5 separate regions of the Homo sapiens genome follow, and all the other regions are linked to region 2. Evidence: promoter capture Hi-C in human tissues and cell types (Jung and others, 2019). All regions are on one chromosome and are shown on one strand. The core of a region is centred on a gene start or on the middle of the fragment in contact, and the rest is flanking DNA. Distances in the headings are between cores, read along the strand shown.

What was found. Contacts are between HindIII fragments. The study calls those that stand out against the background at their distance.
Region 1: a fragment that was not itself captured here is called in contact with the fragment with the promoter of SYN3 in region 2 in 1 of the 25 tissues and cell types used here (lymphoblastoid cells).
Region 3: a fragment that was not itself captured here is called in contact with the fragment with the promoter of SYN3 in region 2 in 1 of the 25 tissues and cell types used here (lymphoblastoid cells).
Region 4: a fragment that was not itself captured here is called in contact with the fragment with the promoter of SYN3 in region 2 in 1 of the 25 tissues and cell types used here (lymphoblastoid cells).
Region 5: a fragment that was not itself captured here is called in contact with the fragment with the promoter of SYN3 in region 2 in 1 of the 25 tissues and cell types used here (lymphoblastoid cells).

The regions. Positions count from the first base shown.
Region 1 is chr22:34,477,255-34,479,954 of GRCh38, forward strand. No RefSeq gene overlaps it. Among named protein-coding and RNA genes, the nearest start is that of LL22NC03-13G6.2, 270 kb to the left of the region's middle. The HindIII fragment of the contact is 5,381 bases long and covers 1-2,700 here.
Region 2 is chr22:33,057,089-33,059,788 of GRCh38, forward strand. It overlaps SYN3 (synapsin III), which reads right to left and starts at 1,293. Exons shown (of 14, transcript NM_003490.4): 1 at 1,204-1,293. The HindIII fragment of the contact is 13,516 bases long and covers 1-2,700 here.
Region 3 is chr22:34,519,342-34,522,041 of GRCh38, forward strand. No RefSeq gene overlaps it. Among named protein-coding and RNA genes, the nearest start is that of LL22NC03-13G6.2, 310 kb to the left of the region's middle. The HindIII fragment of the contact is 4,840 bases long and covers 1-2,700 here.
Region 4 is chr22:34,927,880-34,930,579 of GRCh38, forward strand. All of the region lies in intron 1 of LINC02885 (long intergenic non-protein coding RNA 2885), which reads right to left. Among named protein-coding and RNA genes, the nearest start is that of LINC02885, 69 kb to the right of the region's middle. The HindIII fragment of the contact is 6,649 bases long and covers 1-2,700 here.
Region 5 is chr22:34,948,668-34,951,367 of GRCh38, forward strand. All of the region lies in intron 1 of LINC02885 (long intergenic non-protein coding RNA 2885), which reads right to left. The region is part of intron 1 of LOC105373015 (a long non-coding RNA gene); the gene reads right to left. Among named protein-coding and RNA genes, the nearest start is that of LINC02885, 48 kb to the right of the region's middle. RefSeq lists enhancers at 1,177-1,678, 1,679-2,178. The HindIII fragment of the contact is 4,068 bases long and covers 1-2,700 here.

The sequences.
Region 1 (2,700 bases), core at 161-2,660, 1.4 Mb after region 2:
CATCACAATTTGTAAATACATTGCTGGGCATATTCTAAGTATTTGACAACTCCTGCATAGCTGAGAGATATAATATTTTTCATTCTGGCCAACCCTGTCTGGGACCTTAAATTTGTAGGGGGTTTTATAGCTCATATATTTCTAAACTCATGCCTCCCAACACCCTGGTGAGGCAGGCCTAGCAAATACTGACGGATACACCAGTCAAATGACAGAAGTCTGTACAACTTGATGTAGCTTTTCTCCAGGAAGCCCCCTTTGCTCTAATCTTCACCAAAGTCTTCTAAAGTCATAAATGCTTGGTGTATAGATTCTTTGTGGTAGAACCTCAAGAATGGTGACTGTTCTACTTGCTGTTGATGGGTGGATAGATAAGAAAATCAGGGGCCAAGGGGCACAACAGACAAGAAGAACGTAACTCTTAACCTGCCTATACCACCTTCAATACTGGCAGGAACTGGGGACTCCCATGGGTGATGGGATTAGAAGTCATCAAGGCAAAATTAACTTAGATCTCAACAGCTATGGAGGGGCCTCACTGAGGCCTGTATTTCATAAAGAATTTGTTCTTAATTAAACAACAAAAATAATAAACAGTGTTGAAAAATTCACTTTTCTGAAACATTAGATTAGTTTTAATGTAATGTCTATGATAATATAGCTTTCACTCCTTTTCAGTCTAACATGCTTTCTCAAAGTGGGTGAGAGACAGGTGAGAGGCTGTAGTCTGTAAAATTTCACAGAATGCCCAGCCTGTTTTATCTATGCTGCCCCCAAGAGAGGATGCTGGATTTGGGAGTCTTTATACCAGCAGTGTCCGATAGAAATATAATGTGAGCTATACATGTAAATTTTCTAGTAGTCACAATAAAATACTGATATGGTTTGGCTGTGTCCCCACCCAAATCTCATCTTGAATTGTAGTTCCCATCATCCCCACGTGTCAAGGGAGGGACCCAGTGGCAAGTAATTGAAACATGGGGGCGGTTACCCCCATGTTGTTCTTGTGAGAGTGAGTGAGTTCTCATGAGATCTGATGGTTTTATAAGGGGCTTTTCCCCCTTTGCTCGGCACTTCTTCCTGTCACCCTGTGAAAAAGATGCCTTGCTTCCCCTTCACCTTCCACCATGATTGTAAGTTTCCTGAGGCCTCATCAGTCATATTGAACTGTGAGTCAATTAAACCTCTTTTCTTTATGAATTACCCAGTCTCAGGCAGGTCTTCATAGCGGTATGAAAATGGACTAATACAAATACAAACAGGTGAAGTTAATTTTAATAATAATGTTATTTAACCAGATATATTCAAAATATCACTTCAACATGGAATCAATATAAAATATTAATGAAATATCTTGTATTCTTTTATCACATTAAGCCCTCAAAATCAGGTTTATGTTTCAATTCAGCTACATTTCAGGTGCTCATTAGCTACATGTGGCTGGTGTCTGCTGAACTGAGATCATAGCTCTGAGAGCTGCCTCTGTAAGAAGCAGCCAGGATGAGGTGGTATGAAGCTTTGCATTGGGCTCTATAGTGTCCCTGGGTAGTGAGTCTAATCTCTGACCTCTCCTACTTTTCCCTCATGAGGGCATTTTCCTTGTCCACAGAAATGGGTCAGATATCATCCAATGCCTTCCTGACCAGGCTTCACAGGAGACCTGCTGGTTGGAGGAGAAGTTTGGAAGATACCAGATGTGTACTCCACCTGTCATCTGCCAAACCTGCAGGTAGCCTGAGGGCATTTTTTCAGCACTGCTTCTCTCATCTGCACACTCACCTCTGTACATGATCACTCATAGTCTCTGAGACGCTTCCGCTCCCTCTTCCTCCTTCCTCCACTCATTCCTACTTTGAGCGGATGCAAGAGAAAGGAAGGCACTTGTTATTTCAAATGGGGCTTGACGCAGGCTCACAAAGAGCATAAAACCAAACCATTTTCACAGGCAATCAGACCCAGGCAGTTAAAACAAACTGAGAACTCCATTACAGCCCATTACTGTCTGATCCAGGGCTCCCCCGTCTACACATCCCTTGGCTCCTAGAAAAAGGAGTGGGAAAGGGCAAAGGGAACCCTTTCTGTAGCCAGCTAATAGGCTGAGATCACGGAAAAGGCCTTCACTTCTCCCATCAATCCAAGTGGGAAAGGCAAGTGAACAATTCTCCTGTGATTTAAATAGATGAAAAGTAAATGATAGTGTTGACAAAGCCCTAAGCAAAGATCCTTTTGGCATTTGATTAGTAGCATGGACCAAAAATGTAGTGTGTGTGTGAGTGTTTATGTGCGTGCACATGTGTGCATTTGCAGACATGTGTGGTCTCTTCCTCATAACGACATAATATATACATATGTCACATTTAATGGTACCGGCAGTCAGGATGAAATAAGGTTCCAATTTCACATGGGCATTCTGAATATGTCAAATTGGAGCCTCTTCTGCAAAATGAGAATAATAATGCCATCAACCACACAGGGATGTTATAAAGACCAAACATAGTAAGATTTGCATAGTTACTTTCTGATTATCTGTCTTTGTTTGTATCTGTCTATCTATCTATCTATCTATCTATCTATCTATCAATGGAGGAGCGTGGTAAGAACCATACAGGCCTGGTTAATTGAATCACACAAAGACTCCCCCAGGTCCATTTGGAGACATGAGCATGTTCTAAACCATTGTTCCATGTTCCAAATGCATAG
Region 2 (2,700 bases), core at 43-2,542:
CCGGGCAGAGGGGGCTCCCTTAAGCAGGGAAGAGTATTTGCAGCCAAGGACCAGAAAACAACTACAACTTACCAGCTTTCTGATGCTCCGGCCTCCATCCATTGTCCCCAGAGCTGCCAGAGGGACCTGATCACTGATCAGAATTCTTCCACGGCCCTCCTTCATTCCAGGATAAAATTCTAAATATTCTAAGGCTGCACTTTAAGGTCTGTGCAGGTTTTAGCTTCCTGCCATGTCGAGAGCTCATTTCCTACCTACAGCAAGACCCGGTCCTACTCCATTATCTGCTGTAGAATTATCTGATGTGCTAGGTCAGGACACCGGACCTTTTCAGTTTCTTTACCTTTACACAAGAAAACCCACCTGGAATTCCTGCTCCCTATCAACTCACAGTCCCAACACACTTTTCAGCCTGGCAAAACCTCCGACTTCCAGTCAATGCTCACCTCCTCTCTGAAACCTTCCTGGCTTCCTCACCGTCCTCTTCTCCATCTCGAGTCTTCCGCACTACCCTGCACTGCAATTGCTCCTCCTACTGTCCCTCTTAGCCCCAGAAGCTCCCCAAAGGCCATTCTTCATGCTGCTAGGGCTTGGCACAGTTCCTGGCACTCAGAAAAAGCCAAGTAAGTGCTGGATAGATACACGAGGTGCTGTATCCATAGCTATTCTCTGCTTCTAGCTTGGCCAGGAAACCACTCTGAAATTTCATCCTGCCCCCAGGATGACTGGAAATCGGAAATGGCATGACAAACCTGACCTCCCAAACCCAAGGCAACAGGTCATGAGGGGTCTGGGGACCTAAGGCAGGTCCTAGGAGCCGGCGCAGAGCAGAGGTCCGGCCGCTGCGGTTCCTGGTTTCCCGCAAGCTCTTCCCCGGGCCGGGCGCTGGGTGGAGGCAGTCTTAGGATCCACAGTCTTGCGCGCCCCCGGCTCCCGGGCCCGGCAGACGGCCCCCGCACGCCGATCTGTCTGTCCCAGGGACCGGCCCAGGGCCCCGGCAGCGGCAGCCTGGGGAGACACCGTGGTGCGCGGCTCCTTGCCTCCCTCCCTGCCCCTCCGTGCGCCCGCATCCCGCGGACACAGAGCCGGAGCTCCAGGGGACGCAGCCCGACGCGAGAACGCACCAGCAGCCCCCGCTCGAGGTGGGGTCTCCCGGCTGTCAGAAACCCCACAAAGTCTACTTTGCGGCGCCGCGCCGCTTACCGTGCGAGCCGCCAGGAACTCGGCGCCCGGTGGTGCCTCGGCGCGGCGCCCGCCAGTCGATCCGCTCCGGGTCCCGGGAGCTCAGCCTCTGCCCCTCAACGCGCGCGAGCGCCCCCGCCCGGCGGCCCGGCCTCCCCGCGCCGCGGCGCCCCATTGGCTCGGGCAACGAGGCCCCCGGACGGCCCCGCCCACCCGCGCCCACTCCCTCGCCCACGCCTCTCCCCAACGCCTTGCTGGGTTCACCTCTCCAGGCAGGGAAAGTTGCTTCTAGACTCTGAGCTCTCACCGGACTCAGGAGCCCAGTTAGCTAATAATTCTGGGTCCCAGGAGTGTCTAGACGCCCCTCGGGGAGTGCGAAGAATGCAGTGTCCTTGGAATCCACCTTTGGGAAAGTCAGCTGACCTCCCGGACCTCAGGTGGCACCTCAGAGAAACCAGGGCCCCTTGTCAGGAAATGTCCCAGGTTGTGGGCTAGGCCCTAGGGCCAGGATGCAACAGGGAACAAGACAAAGTCTATCGTCCTCGTGGACTTTGCATGGGGTGGAGGTGGGGGTAGGTTATATACAACAAACGAAAAAAACAAGAGAATGTCGGCTGGGTGCCTGTGGCTCACGCCTGTAATCCCAGCACTTTGGGAGGCCGAGGCAGGTGAATCACGAGGTCGGGAGTTCAAGACCAGCCTGGCCAAGATGATAAAACCCCGTCTCTACTAAAAATACAAAAATTAGCTGGGCATGGTGGCCCTCACCTGTAGTCCTAGCTACTCGGGAGGCTGAGGCAGAATTGCTTGGACCCGGGAGGTGGAAGTTACAGTAAGCCGAGTTAGAGCCACTGCACTCCAGCCTGGGCAACAGAGCTAGATGCCGTCTCCAAAAAAAAGAAAAGAAAAAGAAAGGGGTCTAGGACTGCTATACCTAGGGTGGTCTCCGGGCCGCTTGTGATATTGGATACTTGGAGGACAAAAACGATTCCAGGGCTGAAGCAAGAGCATTGCTGACAGAGGGGTCGGCCGATGCATGGTTCTGAAGCTGGAACTGGCCCCCAGGGTGGCTGAGTGAGGTGAGCAAGGGGAGAGTGGGTTACAGCCAGAGAGGTAGACTAGTGTGGAATCACCATCACCCAGAACCTTGTAGGCCACCGTGAGGGTCAGGGCTTTGTCATATCAATCTGGAGGGAACAATTCAGGCAAGAGATTATGGTGATGAAGACCAGGGTGGTGACAGCAAGATACGGAAAAGGTGGACCTCCTGCAATGTGTGTCAAAAGTAGCACAGGAAGGCTTGATGATGGATTAGGCTGGATTTAGGGGATGCTATGGTTTAAATATGTTCCCCAAAGTTCATATCTTGGAAACTTAATCCCCAATGCAACAGTGTTGAGAGGTGGGACCTTTAAGAGGTGATTCCATTAATGCCAGGAGTGGCCCTCTCCCCACCCCTCTGCTGCTCTCTTGTTCTGCCTTGTGCCATGGGGTGACTCAGCATGAAGGCCCTTACCA
Region 3 (2,700 bases), core at 191-2,690, 1.5 Mb after region 2:
CAGAGTTTATCTCCTCAGACAAAAGTGGAAATGCTGTTGGCAGCATGGGTCAGGGAGGGGATGTTGCCACTACTGGGGATGGGGTAGCTGTTTCTTTGAGCAGTGCACCTGGTTGTGTGCTGTGCATGGAAGGAGACATGGCCAGATATATAATTATATACTGATTCGTGGAACTTGTAGCCAATGGTTTGGCTGGACAATCAGGGACTTGGAGGAACCATGATTGGAAAATTGGTGACAAAGAAATTTGGGGAAGAGGTATGTGGACAGACCTCTCTGAGTGGTCAAAAACTGTGAAGATATTTGTATCCCATGTGAGTACTCACCAAAAGGTGACCTCAGCAGAGGAGAATTTAAAAAATCAAGTGGATAGGCAGTGCACAGTGGCTCACGCCTGTAATCCCAGCACTTTGGGAGTCCAAGGCAGGTGGATCACCAGGTCAGGAGTTTGAGACCAGCCTGGCCAACATGGTGAAACCCTGTCTTTACTAAAAATACAAAAAATGAGCCGGGCATGGTGTCAGGTGCCTGTAATCCCGGCTACTCAGGAGGCTGAGGCAGGAGAATCACTTGAACCCAGGAGGCAGAGGTTGCATTGAGCCAAGATCACACCACTGCACTCCAGCCTGGGCAACAGAGCGAGACTCAGTCTCAACAATAACAACCAACAACAACGTCGTCAACAACAACAACACAAAATCAAGTGGATAGGATGACTTATTCTGTGGACACCACTCAGCCTCTTTCCCCAGCCACCTCCATCATTGCCCAGTGGGCCCATGAACAAAGTGGCCATGGTGGCAGGGATGGTGGTTATGCGTGGGTTGAGCAACATCGACTTCCACTCACCAAGGCTGACCTGGCTAGTGCCACTGCTGAATGCCCAATTTGCCAGCAGCAAAGACCAACACTGAGCCCCCAATATGACACCATTCCTCTGGGTGATAAGCTAGCTACTTGGTGGCAGGTTGATTATATTGGACCTCTTCCATCATGGAAAGGGCAGAGGTTTGTCCTCACTGGAATAGTCCAGATATGTGTTTGCCTGTCCTGCATGCAATGCTTCTGCCAAGACTACCATCCATGGACTTATGGAATGCCTTATGTACCATCATGGTATTCCACACAGCATTGCCTTTGACCAAGGCACTCACTTTATGGCTAAAGATGTGTGTCAGTGGGCTCATGAATTCATGCTTATGGAATTCACTCGTCTTACCATGTACCCCATCACCCCTAGTGATCCACTAGCAAAATTTTTGCTCCCTGTTCCTGTGACATAATGTTCTGCTGGCCTAGAGGTCTTAGTTCCAGAGGAGGAACACTGCCACAAGGAAACATACAACTATTCCATTAGAGTGGAAGTTAAGATTGCCACCCGGACACTTCGGGCTTCTCCTACCCTTAAGTCAACAGGCTAAGAAGGGAGTTACAGTGTTGGCTGGGGTGATTGACCCAGACTATCAAGATGAAATCAGTCTACTGCTCCACAGTGGAAATAAGGAACAGTATGTGTGCAATACAGGAAATCTCTTGGGGCATCTCTTAATCTTACCATGCCCTGTAATTAAGGTCAATGGGAAACTACAGGAGCCCAATCCAGGAAGGACTACAAATGGCCCAGACCCTTCAGGAATGAAGGTTTGGGTCACTCCACCGGGAAAAAAACCATGACCTGCTGAGGTGCTTGCTGAAGGCAAAGGGAATACAAAATGGGTAGTAGAAGAAGGTAGTCATCAATACCAGCTATGACTATGTGACCACTTGCAGAAACGAGGACTGTAATTGTCAAGAGCATTTCCTTCTTCTTTTGTTAAAAACATGTTTGTGTATGTATACACTTGTACTAAGAAAATTCCTTCATTTTATTTCCTTTTTCCTTTGTCATGTGACATAAGATTTATTGACTTTATGTCAGCATTTAAGTGTTGTTAACTTTAATACCATTTGGGTTGGGAATTGATGCATTTCTGGTTGTACAAAGGGTAGTTGTATTATGTTAGGTGTAATTATGACCTTATTATTGTCTTTATTTGAAGATTATGTATGATCTCAGGAGATGTATATGGGTTCAAATTGACAAGGGGTGAACTTGTGTTGGTTAATACTGAGTGTCAACTTGATTGGATTGAAGGATGCAAAGTATTGATCCTGGCTGTGTCTGTGAGGGTGTTGCCAAAGGAGATTAACATATGAGTCAGTGGGCTGGGAAAGGCAGACCCACTGTTAATCTGGGTGGGCACAATCTAATTAGCTGCCAGCATGGCTAGGATAAAAGCAGGCAGAAGAACATGAAAATACTAGACTGGCTTAGCCTCCCAGCCTACATCTTTCTCCCATGCTGGATGCTTCCTGCCCTTGAACGTCGGACTTTAAGTTCTTCAGCTTTGGGACTTAGACTGGCTTCCTTACTCTTCAGGTTGCAGATGGCCTATTTTGGAACCTTGTGATTGTGTGAGTTTAATACTCCTTAGTAAACTCCTCTACATATATAACCTATTAGTTCTGTCCCTCTGGAGAACCCTAATACACCATCATTTACAATAAAGACCGCCTGAGTGATGAAAAATTAAATGCCTGAGGATCAGTAGGAATTTATATTCTAGAAGAATTCAAATGCTTGCCTAAAATAATTAAATTCCAAAAAGACAATTTCAAGTATCATGGGGAGAATATTTTAAAGATTCTGGTGGGGGACAC
Region 4 (2,700 bases), core at 95-2,594, 1.9 Mb after region 2:
TATAAATTAAATCCCTGGCACAGACTAAATATTCAACAAATGGTCACCATTATGGCCTTAGAGTCAATGGATGCCCTTTGGCCTATTTACCATCTCATTATTTCGTATGTGCAGTTTTCATCCTTGTTTTGTCTTTTGATTCAGCCAGCTACCTCAGTGTAGGTAGCTGGCTTCCTACACATTTCCTACACTTCTTAGGACCTTGAGTCCGTAGAGAAAACCTCTAGAGATGTGCTATCCGGTATGGTAGTTGCTAGCCTCATGTGGCTATTTAATTATAAATTTAAATTAATGAAAATAAAATAAAATTAGAAACTGAGCTCCTCAATTGCACTAGCCACGTTTAAAGCTCTCAGTAATCTCATGTGGCCAGTAGCCACTGTATTGGATAGCACAGATAGAGAGAGCATTTTCCCCATCATGGAAAGTTCTATTAGACAGCACTGGGCTAAAAAGGATTATATAGAACTATGAGCCATTTTCCAGTATTTCCAAAGGCCTAATGAAAACTCTATATTTACTCTCAACGAGACTGCCCAGGTTAGCTAAAACACCCAGGGGACTACTTTCGGCTGGAACTATAACAGGCTGTGCTGTCATATCTTCCATGGCCAATGATCAAATAGGTGGGCTGGGAACAAGCCAGGGCCCTAGGCCCTGCATCTGGACCTGGAGAGCTGGCTGTGCAGCAGGCACAGCAGCTAGCGGGCAGTGGGCAGGACCTCTGGCTGCAATCCCGGCCCCTAGTATCTTTGTGGTAGAAAGTGTGGAGGAGTCAGGAGCTATAAAGCCCAAGTATGGCAAAGCCAAAGAGGTAGGAAGGAGATATGGTGACTGGGGACCAACCAGGTGTCAAGGACATGGGAGGGAAGGCAGCACTGGACCCAAGCAGAAGCTGGAACTTGTGAGTGTGAAGACGACTGTGGAAGAGCAGCTCAGCTTCCTGACCCTGTGTATACTGCACAGTCTCCTAAAGGTAGCGGGCAATAGATCTAGATATTACTTGTCAACAAAAATGCTCCTCTAAGAAGTTGTGTTTTTGACTCATAAAAGCGGAAGAACAAGTTAAATATTACTTTATACATGCAGTTTACTTGTTGGATGTGACCAGTCCATGAGATCTAGTCTCCTTTTTTTCTTGCTAAGAGAATCCCAGCTTTGTCTAGCCTGTAGTCACATGCCTAGTTAAAAATACTTCCCAAACTCCTCTGCAACTAGGAGTGGCCATGGGACCCAGTTCTAGACAATAAGATTTAAGAGTAGAGCTTCTGAGAGAGCTATAATTTTCCTCATATAAAAAGACCAACTTAACTGGATCACTCCTTTTTTTTTCTTGGCTTTTTTCCCAATGTTTTCTGCCTGAAATTCACATGTGAAGTTTGACTGTGCAGCAGACATCTTGAGGTTGAAAGCCACATCCTAACAAAGTCAGGGTGGTGGATGGAACATGGGTTTTTTTGTTTTGTTTTGTTTTGTTTTCTTTTCTTTTGAGATGGAGTTTCGCTCTTGTTGCCCAGGCTGAAGTGCAGTGGTGCGATCTCGGCTCACTGCAACTTCCACCTCCCGGATTTGAGCGATTCCCCTGCCTCAGTCTCCCAAGTAGCTGGGATTACAGGCGCCTGCCATCACGCCCAGCTAATCTTTTGTATTTTTAGTAGAGATGGGGTTTTACCATGTTGGCCAGGCTGGTCTTGAACTCCTGACCTCAGGTGATCCACCCGCCTCGGCCTCCTGAAGTACTGGGATTACAGGCATGAGCCACCGCACCCGGCCCAGAATATGGGTTCTTAAAGACTTTGTACGTACTCTAAACCACCAACTCTGGACTCCTTATTGCATGAAAAAGGCAAACCCCCGTTTGTTGAGGCCACAGAAATAATGGTTCTTTACATGCTATCATAAACAATGGGCAAAATATACCAAAATGTGTACTTTGTGGAGGAAACACTAGTAAAAGGAGCCTTTGACAAGGAACAGATACTGTTTTCCCCTGCTTTGTGAGGTCAGAGAACAGATTCTGAAATCAGGCTGCAGGGTTTGAATACTGGTTCTTCAGGAGCCACTGTCCTATACCAAGTTTTGGTGCAAATCAAATAAGGCAACTCCTCTAGACAGATAAAAGTCCAGTGGGCCCACAGCTTGGTGAAAAGGTCATATCTTTTAATGAATTTGATAAAGGATTTGTTCCTCCCAACAAACTCAGCCTCATACTAGCATCCATGACTTGTTAACCAGATTGGTGGCCGGATTTCAGACTCCTGGGCCAGGCATCATTGAGCTGTGAAAAACATGCACAGACATACACGGTGGCCATGGGGTCCACCACCTCCCACTTGTGAAGCCTGGGCCAAATGAATGGATTTCCCTTTGCCTCAATTTCCTTATCTAGAAGATGAAGCTAATAATAACATGCTATCTTTACATGCTATCATATACAGTGGGCAAAATATATCAAAATATGCACCTTGTGGAGGGAACGCTTGTGAAAAGAGACTTTGGGCTCAGCACAATGGCTTAAGCCTGTAATCCTAGCACTTTGGGAGGCCGAGGAGGGGGCATCACAAGGTCAGGAGTTCAAGACCAGCCTGGCCAACTTGGTGAAACCCTGTCTCTATTAAAAATACAAAAATTAGCGGGGTGTGGTGTTACATGCCTGTAATCCCAGCTACTCAGGAGGCTGAGGCAGAATTGCTTGAATGG
Region 5 (2,700 bases), core at 28-2,527, 1.9 Mb after region 2:
ATAATTCATAATTTCTTTCTAAAATCATCAAAGATGACCTCAAAAATCCTTCTTCGTCATTTACACTTTAACATAAATGATTTTTGTCACATCTTCTCCTGGGATCACTTTGTAAGATCGGGGGAGAGGGTTGGAGTTGGGGGAAGGTCCTGAATACTTGGGTAAGAGATGAGACCACACCTCTGCAAGTTCAATGGGCAAGTTCAAAGGCCTCCTGAACTCCTGTAGATCTTACATGCACAGCACCCAAAGTGGAAATGATTGCACTGACTGAATAGCACCCATGTTCCAGGCCTCATACTAAGCACATGTCATACCTCATTTTATTTGACCTCAAGAACACCATGTGAGTGCAGTCCTGTTATCCCCTTCCAAGTGATGCAACTGCTCTGATAGACAGCAAATAATTTGCTGATGGTCTCACAACTTCTAAGTGATAGAGGTAGTATTTAGTCCAAGGTTGATTCAAAAATTGGTGCTCTATTCACAATAGCAAAGACATGGAATCAACCTAGGTGCTCATCAATGGTGGACTAGATAAAGAAAATGTGGTACATATACACCATGGAATACTGTACAGCCATAAAAAAGAATGAGCTCATGTCCTTTGCAGCAACATGGATGCAGATTGAGGCCATTATCCTAATTGAATGAATGCAGACACAGAAAACCAAATGCCACATGTTCTCACTTAGAAGTGGGAGCTAAATATTGTGTACACATGGATATAAAGACAAGAACAATAGACACTACAGACTCCAAATGGAGGAGGGCTGAAGCGGGCAAGGGTTGAAAAACTACCTACTGGTTACTATGCTCACTATTTGGGTGATGGGTTCAATTCAAGCCCAAACCTCAGCATCACACAATATATCCATGTAGCAAATCTGCACATGTACCCTCTGAATCTAAATTTTATTTCTAGCAGTACTTTTCCCACTCTGCCACCCTGGGAGAAAGACTGACGAGGTACAATGAGCACTACAAGGTGTCCCAGGCACAAGGTCCCTGACCTGGCTCCGCCCCTCACCAGGTGAGGACCTTAGGTCAGTGACTTTCCTTTTGTGTGCCTCAGTTTTCTCATCTTCGAAAGGAATAGTAATGAGGTTCCTAACCTCATTATGCTTCTGTAGGGACACAGAAAGTAAGGTGCTGGCAACTGTTCTTGTTACAGTACTAACAATCATGGCAGGCCTCCTGGAGGAGTGGAAAGCAGTGCACTATGGACTGAACTGTGTCCTCCCCTCCCCCAAATCCATATGTTGCAGCCCTAACCCCCAATGAGGCTGTATTTGGAGATGGGGCTTTTAGGGGGTAATTAAGGTTGAATGAGGTGATAAGAGTGGGGTTTGGATCCAATAGGACTGGTGTCCTTATAAGAAGAGACACCTGGGCCAGGCACAGTGGCTCATGCCTGTAATCCCAGCACTTTGGGAGGCCAAGACAGGTGGATCACCTAAGGTCAGGAGTTCAAGACCAGCCTGACCAACATAGTGAAAACCCATCTCTACAAAACTACAAAAATTAGCCGGGCATGATGGCATTTGCCTGTAATCCCAGCTACTCGGGAGGCTGAGGCAGGATAGTGACTGGAACTGGGAGGTGGAGGTTGCAGTGAGCCGAGATCACACCATTGCACTCCAGCCTGGGCGACACAGTGAGACTTCGACTCAAAAAATAAAAAGAAGAGACACCAGAGAGCTCACTCATCCTCCTCTCTCTGCATGCTCTGAGGAAGAGCCATGTGAGGCCAAAGCGGCCATCTACAAACTAGGAAGAGGGCCCTCGCCAGGAAACAAATCAGCTGGCACCTTAATCTTAGACCTTCTTGCCTCCAAGAATTAAGAGAAAATTAATTTCTGTTATTTAAGCCACCCAGTCTATAGTGTCTTGTTATGGCAGGCCCAGCGGCTAATACACAGTTCCAAGCTGCGCTTCCTCTCTCATTGCCCAGACTTTCCAGACAGGACTTTCTGCCTCCTGCTCTCTGAGGGCCCTCCCCCTCTAAACATGCAAATGTACTCACTCAGTTCCCAGGAAATGCGAAGCAGACAGCCCTGGAATTCAAAACAGCCTGCAGACTGCAGCCTCTTATTTTAATGATTCTAATTTATCTCCAGAATTATCAATAATAAATCAAACTAAGTGGAACTAAAACAACTTTCCCTGTGGCTGTGTCATGTTCTGTTGGAAAAGACGACCCCTTCAAAAGGCTGTGTTGATCACCAGCTCCTCCATCTGCCCAGCGAGCAGGTTCCCTGAAAAGGTGCTCAGTGACTTTCCTCCATGGAGAAAGACGTTTTCCATTTGTGCCTAACCAGCCATGCACAGTTTCAGGAGCACCACATATAACCCTCATTTAATTTAAGCTTATGGGTTAGGAATGAGTATGACCTCATTATACTAACGGGAAAACTGAGGCACAGAGGGGTTCAGTGAACCTTTCAAAGTCACAGAGCGGGGATACTAACCCAGCCCTCCCTAGCCCCAGTCCCACGTTCCCTCCCATGAAAAAGTTGCCTCTGAGCTGCAGATATCAGCTTGGTACCCTGGAAAAGGCTCAGGCTTTGGAATTCAGCATCTGGGTCTGAGTTCCTCCTCTGCCTTTAATGATGGGTAAGCATTCAGGGAAGTAGCTGAGTCTCACTGAGCTTCCTTTCCCATCTCTAAAAGTGGCAGCTTATCATGCTTAAAGGACAA